3 separate regions of the Homo sapiens genome follow, and regions 1 and 3 are each linked to region 2. Evidence: promoter capture Hi-C in 16 types of primary human blood cells and fetal thymus (Javierre and others, 2016). All regions are on one chromosome and are shown on one strand. The core of a region is centred on a gene start or on the middle of the fragment in contact, and the rest is flanking DNA. Distances in the headings are between cores, read along the strand shown. Region 1 overlaps SSH2 (slingshot protein phosphatase 2). Region 2 holds the start of SSH2 (slingshot protein phosphatase 2). Region 3 overlaps SSH2 (slingshot protein phosphatase 2).

Evidence for each region. The method cuts DNA at HindIII sites, captures the fragments that hold promoters and counts their contacts. A CHiCAGO score of 5 or more calls a contact.
Region 1: a fragment that was not itself captured here is called in contact with the fragment with the promoter of SSH2 in region 2 in 1 of 17 cell types (fetal thymus); the score reaches 5.3 in fetal thymus.
Region 3: a fragment that was not itself captured here is called in contact with the fragment with the promoter of SSH2 in region 2 in 7 of 17 cell types (M2 macrophages, M0 macrophages, megakaryocytes and 4 more); the score reaches 9.4 in M2 macrophages.

What each region holds. Positions count from the first base shown.
Region 1 is chr17:29,723,743-29,726,442 of GRCh38, reverse strand. The region is part of intron 3 of SSH2 (slingshot protein phosphatase 2); the gene reads left to right. Among named protein-coding and RNA genes, the nearest start is that of SSH2-AS1, 86 kb to the right of the region's middle. RefSeq lists a silencer at 2,667-2,700. The HindIII fragment of the contact is 3,748 bases long and covers 1-2,700 here.
Region 2 is chr17:29,928,881-29,931,580 of GRCh38, reverse strand. It overlaps SSH2 (slingshot protein phosphatase 2), which reads left to right and starts at 1,353. Exons shown (of 16, transcript NM_001282129.2): 1 at 1,353-1,643. The coding sequence starts at 1,581. It also overlaps a transcript of EFCAB5 not described here. RefSeq lists silencers at 171-340, 1,074-1,163, 1,314-1,593, 2,104-2,153. The HindIII fragment of the contact is 8,919 bases long and covers 619-2,700 here.
Region 3 is chr17:29,792,241-29,794,940 of GRCh38, reverse strand. It overlaps SSH2 (slingshot protein phosphatase 2), which reads left to right. Exons shown (of 16, transcript NM_001282129.2): 3 at 1,004-1,047. Among named protein-coding and RNA genes, the nearest start is that of SSH2, 140 kb to the left of the region's middle. The HindIII fragment of the contact is 2,493 bases long and covers 125-2,617 here.

The DNA of each region.
Region 1 (2,700 bases), core at 78-2,577, 210 kb after region 2:
ATGCAAACTCTGGCTCTCTCTTAGCCTCAGAATAAAGCTAGATTCCTTAGCAAGCCATAGAAAACCCTTCCAAATCTGTACCTCTCCCCATCTGTACTGAAGCCCTCTCCACTGTTTCCCCATACAATAGGATTGAAGTTGTTCTGTCCCTCTGACCAGGCCTTTGCACATGCTGCTCCCCCTGCCTGAAACATCCTTTCTTTTCCCTCCTAACCTCCTTTCACCTGACTAATGCCTACCCAGGCTCCAGAATGGATTGAATAGATGTCCTTCCATGGAGGAAGAAGCGTTCTGCCTCCCCTCTCTTCTGGAGAGGGCGGTTAGTGTGTTTGTTTTATTTTTTATTTAAGTCTCTGCTCGAATATCATCTTGACCACCTCCTTACCTAAAACAGCAGTGCACCTTGTCATTTTTTAGCCTCTTACCCACTGCTTACTTCACAGCATTTATTATCACCTGACATTTTACTTATTTGTCTCTCTCTACCTCCACTGTCACAAATCTATTGATTCCCTGGCTTTTTTTAAATTTTCTTTTAAGTTCTGGGATACATTTGCAGAACATGCAGGTTTCTTACATAGGTATACATGTGCCATGGTGGTTTGCTGCACCTATCAACCCATCATCTAGGTTTTAAGCCCCACATGGATTAGATATTTGTCCTACTGCTCTCCCTCCTCTTGCCCCCAGCCCTCCGACAGGCCCCAGTGTGTGATGTTCCCTTCCCTGTGTCCATGTGTTCTCATTGTTCAACTCCCACTTATGAGTGAGAACATGCAGTGTTTGGTTTTCTGTTCCTGTGTTAGTTTGTTGAGAATGATGTTTTCCAGCTTCATCCATGTCCCTGCAAAGGACATAAACTCATTCTTTTTTATGGCTGCATAGTATTCCATGGTGTATATGTGCCACATTTTCTTTATCCAGTCTATCATTGATGGGCATTTGGGTTGGTTCCAAGTCTTTGCTATTGTAAATGTAGCTGCAGTAAACATACATGTGCATGTGGCATGTGTCTTTATAGTAGAATGATTTAGAATCTTTTGGGTATATACCCAGTAATGGGATTCCCTGGCTTTTTTTTTTTTTTTTTTTTTTGGAGACTGATTCTTGCTGTGTCGCCCAGGCTGGAGTGCAGTGGTGCAATCTTGGCTCACTGCAACCTCGGCGTCCTGGGTTCAAGCAATTCTCCTGCCTCAGCCTCCTGAGTAGCTGGGACTACAGGCACGCACCACCATGCCCGGCTAATTTTTTGTATTTTTAGTAGAGACGGGGTTTCACCATGTTAGCCAGAATGGTCTCGATCTCCTAACCTCGTGATCTGCCCGTCTTGGCCTCCCAGAGTGCTGGGATTACAGGCGTGAGCCACCGTGCCTGGCCGATTCCCTGGCTTTTATAAAAGTTCATTGCTGTATTCCAGTGCCTTGAATGGGACCTGCTACATAATAAGCTCTCAACAAATACCTGTTGAATGAAAATCTGTGATGTATTCTTGAAAAGTTTTCAAACCAAACTGAGTTTCAGAATCAACTAGAACACCTTCAGAAAAAATTAACGGCCAGGCACGGTGGTTCACACCTGTAATCCTAGCACTTTGGGAGGCCGAGGTGGGTGGATTGCCTGAACTCAAGAGTTTGAGACCAGCCTGGGCAACATGGTGAAACCTTGTCTCTACTAAAATACCAAAAATTAGCTGGGCATGGTGGCATGCGCCTGTAATCCCAGCTACTCGGGAGGCAGAGGCAGGAGAATTGCTAGAACCCGTGAGGTGGAGGTTGCAGTGAGCTGAGAATGCACCACTGCACTCCAGCCTGGGCAATGAGCGAGACTCTGTCTCTTTGAAAAAAAAAAAAAAAAAAAAAAAGATTTGGTAATCTGGGTCCTTAGAATAGGGTTTTGTTTTTTTTTTTTTTTTTTGAGACAGAGTTTTGCTCTTGTTGCCCAGGCTGGAGTGCAATGGCACAATCTTGGCTCACTGTAACCTCCGCCTCCCGGGTTCAAGTGATTCCCCTGCCTCAGCCTCCCAGGTAGCTGGGATTACAGGCATGTGCCACCACGCCCGGCTAATTTTGTATTTTTAGTAGAGATGGGGTTTCACCATGTTGGTCAGGCTGGTCTTGAACTCCCGACCTCAGGCCATCCACCCACCTCGGCCTCCCGAAGTGCTGGGATTACAGGTGTGAGCCACCCTGCCCGGCTAGAATAGGTTCTGACATCCACATTTTAAAACCTCAGTTAGATTATATGAGTACAGAAAGAATAGGCACCTTCCTCTGTTTTGCATGTATTACACCTTTGAGTTAAAATCTGTATCTAGTTGATTAAATTATAATTTGGTCTGTTGTAGCTTTTGCTGTCACCAACAGGAAAATGTGGGTCCTGTGAACTATGTGGAATTAACTGACTGAGAATTCAGGAAGAGGAGCTTATATAGGACCTAAGAGAGGCTACTGTGCCTGAACAAGAGATTTCCCACATCTTTTGTAGTCAGTTTGCCCAGAAGGTAGATGTATGGGAGTATCCCATACAATACACCCAACTTCTCAGAAAAGGGAAGTTCAAGACAGAACACCAGATAGAACTTTGCAAGTAAATTTTTCAAGTGGAAGAAGTTCCCCCTAGCATGAGGCCTGATTAAAGGCTGCAAACAAGAACAAATAAGGCCTTTCCTGTGGTTTGTATGACAAATGTGGGCTTTCTCAC
Region 2 (2,700 bases), core at 104-2,603:
TCTTTGTTTAATTTTGTCTCACAGGCACTCCTGATCACCACCAGGGGGCAAAAGCCTACCAGCTGGCTTCTCTGCACTACACTCTACATAGGACTGTACAGTACAGGGACCCTCAGTGTCTGATTCTTGATGGAACCTCCCTGCTAATTATTTCAACCACAGGGCCCCAGGGAGAGAACAAAGGCTCAGCACAGAGGACTCTTGTGGCGTTTAACCGTACAGCAGCCAGAAAGAGCTCATGACAGCCCTGTCAGTTTAAAAGAAGCAATGAGATCCAAGAGTGTTTGAGTGACAAACAGGAGGGGGTGGGTTTTAATAACTGCAAACTCCCAAGTGTGTGTGTTTTCTACAGCTTTGATATGTACGGTGGTATTTACCAGCTCATCCACTCAAGCTGAGAAATAGCCTTGTCAACTCTCTTTCTTTGTGTAAATAATCAGTGATATTTGCATTGTGCAATTTTTTTCCTTTTTAATCTTGATTTTCCATTACATTCTTTGCTTATGTTCTGCAGACAATTTACCCCTGAGAAAACCATTCCCTTAAAATATCTTTTAATCTACATTTTTACATAGGTCTATGAAAGAATGACATTTAGAGACGAAGGAGAAGAAAGCTTAACGAGCAAATCCTGTTTAATTAAAAGACTGTCTTCACAGCAGGAGGCAAGTGAGAGGTCAATAGCAGGCTGGACCCTCACAACCGGCTTCCTCGGACTCCCAGGCGCGCTCAGCTTCTCTTCTCCTCAGGAATAATGAATAAGTCTTTAGACAGGCAATAGAGGAAGCATGAGGGTACCACAAACCTTTCCAGGGTATCAAACGGAAAATGGTTTTCTTTCCAGAAGTCTCATCATAAAACATAGACGGAAGGGGGGGAAAAGTTAAGAAAAAGCCCCCGAGAGCCGGGGTGAAGGGAGTAAACTGGTCTAGCCCAGTTCTGTCTGCGCCCAGTGAGAGGGTTTGAAACTCCGCGGAGCCCTTTCCCAATAGAAAACGTGTTTGCTTCAGGATTTTCATCTCAGCTGCTTTTTTTTAAGGTTGGTTAAGCTGTGCGCCGCCCCACCTCATAAAATGGTTGTCTCTCAGGAGTGAAGACTCCAGCGGCCCCCCGCCCTGGGACCCCTCACCGGGCTGGCTCCCTTCGGCCCCTTCCCCCACCCCACTCCACAGCACCCAGTGCTGGCAAACCGCGCGATTCCAGCACGAAGGAGGAAACCCAGGAGGGTGCGGCGGCCCGAGGCGCACGCACTCGGCCAGCTTCCGGCAACTCAAGGGTTACGACCAGGCGGCGGCGCGCGCCGAGGGGAGAGGCGGTAGCTGACAGGTGGCGCCTGCGCACTGGGAGCGCTCATTGTGCCCCGCAGCTGCGGAACCGCCCGCCCGCCGCCCGTTCGGAGCGTCAGTCGGCGACAGTCTGGTGGTGGGTGCGGAGTCTGCGGCCGTTCCCGCGGCCTCCTCCTCCTCCCCGTTCCCTTCACCCCCACCCCGCACCCCTTTCCCCATCCCGGCTCCGTCACCCTCCCGTCCCCCACACTCAGGACAAGAATGCCCTGCCCGGAACAACCCAGCAGCGCCTAGATGGCTTTGGTCACGGTCCAGCGGTCACCTACCCCCAGCACCACCTCCAGCCCCTGCGCCTCGGTGAGTCCTTCCTGGCGGCCGCTCCGCTTGCTTCTGTCACTGCGGCTCCGCTTTGCCTCAGCGGGTCCCGCCGAACGCCACTGCGCACGCGCCGCGCCGCTTCCCAGGCCTTGGCACTCGGCTGCCGCGAACCCCCCCACACCCCCATGTTAAAGACTAGCAGCAGGAACTACAAGACGTTGATTTTTGCCCCCATCACCCTGAGCACCTAGCTCCTCACAATCCTCGCCCTGAAATCCCCTGTGGCATGCCTCCCTATGGCTTGAGCACTTCCTTTTGGTAATGAGTCATTCTTGCTTTTCACCCTCCCCCTTCTTTTACCCTCTGTTGCTCTGCTGCAGGGAGGGGACCGTGAGCCTCCTGCGTTGCCCCTTACCCACACCCACATCTCTTACCCACACCATTTCATAGACCTGTTCAGTATTTGCACACTGCACACCCTTCTTCGTACTCGCCAGGGTGTGTGCCTTCCCCTAGTCACTTGCTGGCTTTCTTTTGCTCTGTACTGTTCAGGCTTTGAACTGCCCAACCGTAGTTATTCCTTGGTTTCTCCCGCCTGCCCCCCACCCCAGAGGGTAGCAATGATCTCTGTTTCCTGGACCTCTTACCTTTCCTTTATGAGGTCCCGAAGCATCTGGTGCTGCTTAGTGATCAGTGTCAAATTATTTCCGTCTTACAGATATTTATGCCTTACACTCATTGCTCGTGATCATTCTTGTTCTAAGGTCGTGTTTGTATGGCTCGTTACCTCAGATGCCTATGCCAATAAAGCATGCTCTCAGAAGGAAAATACCCAGTAACCAGCCTTTCCCCGCTGGGCCCGTCTTTGCCTTCTCTCCTCGCCCCACCCCCATTCGTTTACACTCCATTCTCTTAGGCTCCATTTTTGAAAATATTTATTTTTAAAAACAATATATTGCACCAGTGGGGCAAATGGGCTTTAAAAAACCAACATCCAGATGTTTTAGAGAGAAATAAACTGAGTGAAAATGCGAGCAACTGGGAAAACCACCTTGAACTTCCTACAGAACTGTAATTTTAAAAACGGTGTTGGTGG
Region 3 (2,700 bases), core at 122-2,621, 140 kb after region 2:
AAAAGCCTCTTCATCTTTCCTCACTTTTCCTTCATGTCAATATTCTTGCCTCTGTGAAGATCAGTATAATATCATAACATATACTAATTTTTAACCCAGGGCAAGGAGAGGTAAATGATAAGCTTTTTCAGCTAGCTGGGAGTCAATATTTCTTCGTTTTAATTCTTTACCACATGAGTCTCCTTGGACAGCTTATTTCCCTTTTGCTTCTTCATCTGTAAAATATTCATTGAGTCTAAATTGACATAAGTTATAAGACTTTCTATTATTTTATGTGCCACACTAAGAAGAAATAAATATTGTAATTGAACTATGATTCAGTGCTTTTTGTTGTCATCATTGTTTGGCATCCCTGGGTGGGTCATTAACCATCAGTGCTTTTATATGACATTGATTTATCCTATGTTACTGTGTGTATTTGAATAAATTAAAAATAATTGGTACCATCAACCTTCTGGGTTTATAAAGAATAAGTACAGTAATGTACTTAAATTGAGGAACACAGTGCCTAGCACATTGTAAGTACTCAACAAGTGGTAGCCATTATGTTGATGTTGATGGTGATTTGATCATGAGCACTCTCTTTTAAGTGGTGTTCATTGTTTAGGTTGTTCTTTGGGGGTCAGAATCATTAATAGGTTATATTGATGAGATTTATTGGTGGTAGTCAGAATGCCCACTCGTTTTGAAGCTGAAGTAGCATAACAGTAAAATAACATGTTTAGTTGGTTTTTGGAGGTAATTGTTTTAATGAATAGCACTTCATTGTCAATGAAATTTGTTCATGGACTACTGTTGAAGTTACCTCCAGGAGTAAGTTCTATTGACATCAACTTCCTGGGTTGGTTGAAGTCACTTTTTTTGAAGAGAATTTAGTTCAAGTATACAACATGAGTAATTTAGTTCAAGTACACAACATGTGAAACTTAGTAAAATTATATTAGTGATATTATGATATGAAACCTCAGGTTTTAATTTTTTTTTTCATTTTCTGTCTATACAGGAGGCAGACAGTGGGGAGGAAGAATGCCGGTCACAGCCCAGGAGGTATGTTTGTTCATTATATCCTACGGCATTTTTGTTGTAGGATATTTTTGTAGTAGTTATTGTTTTTTCTCTAATTCTTTTTCAGTCTTATCAGATTAGCTTATCCTTGTTTTTCAACGTGCTTCCTTGGTCTCTCAAGAAACCAGATTGCACCTGGGCATGGTATTTTGTGCCTGTAATTCCAGCTACTTGGGATTGCTTAAGGCCAGGAGTTTGAGACAACGTATCAGGACCTTCCTCCGTTTTTTAAAAAAAAAAAGAGTAAGAGCGAATGCTTTAGGAATCCAGTTACTGACTCAGAAAGATTTTTCAATGGTACATTGGTTTAAAAAGAGGCAGAAAGGTCAATTTTGGCTCAGTTTTCACCCAAGCATCCAAGGAATTATCTTGGGGGTAATAAAAAAGCAAAATTTCCTTACCTTTCAGGAAAATATCAACTGAAGAACATTTCAGCCTTCAGTTTTGTACTTAATTTGTCATTCATATTTGATAAATTTTGGCAATTCTTGCAGATTGGTAAATATTTCACTTTGTTTCTATACAAAGGGTATACTGAGTAAGTATACTGAGTAACCTACCTAATCTTTTAAAATGCAATGAAATATTTTTACCCTCTTCTCATGGAATAGTGGGCATGTTGTTAGAAGGGTGCCAGTACCCAGTAACATTAAAAGAAAACAATTGTGAGAGAAATCTAGGAAGTATAAAATAACATTTATTTTATCTCCTTTAAGGGTTTTTAAAAGTAACTCCCTCCCACAAGAAACAGGCCTGGTAAGTTCTAGATGGTCATTTCAATGTTACCAAACTTGTATCCTCTGAACTCAAATGAGCCATTCTAGATGATACAGAGAAAGGATCAATAAGCATGCTCATTGTGAAGAAGCTGGCTAAAGGGAATGCTGCTTTAATAATTATCAGGCCGGGCGCGGTGGCTCACGCCTGTAATCCCAGCACTTTGGGAAGCCGAGGCAGGCGGATCACGAGGTCAGGAGATCAAGACCATCCTGGCTAACACGGTGAAACCCTGTCTCCACTAAATACAAAAAATAAGCTGGGCATGGTGGCGGGTGCCTGTAGTCCCAGCTACTCAGGAGGCTGAGGCAGGAGAATGGCGTGAACACGGGAGGCGGAGCTTGCAGTGAGCCGAGATCGCGCCACTGCACTCCAGCTTGGGCTACAGAGCGAGACTCCGTCTCAAAAACAAGAACAAACAAAAAATAATAAAAATTATTATTATTATTATCAGGTGTTTGTTGATATATACCTCCTTCTTGTAAACTACAACTTAATATAAAAATAGTTCCTTTTCATCAGTAACTGAGATTATCGGTAGTTTTTTTCCTGATTTGTTAACACATAAATTGTGGGCTTAAGGCTTAATTTCTCGTGTCTCTTAGCAAAGAGAAGTGTCCTTCTTTTGCATAGGGCTAAGGAGGTAGAAACCAAAAATAAATTTTAGCTGAATGTGTACCAGAGGCATCGTAATCATATTCCCATTAGAATGAAAAAATAATTCTTATATTTTCTAGAAGGTCAGATTTAAAGCTCTCTGAGTCAATTTCAAGCTTTATATATTGACTCAATATCCACTGGAATAATGTTGTTCCAAAAAATTACCTAATGATGAGGCAATGGAAGTCATTCTCTTAT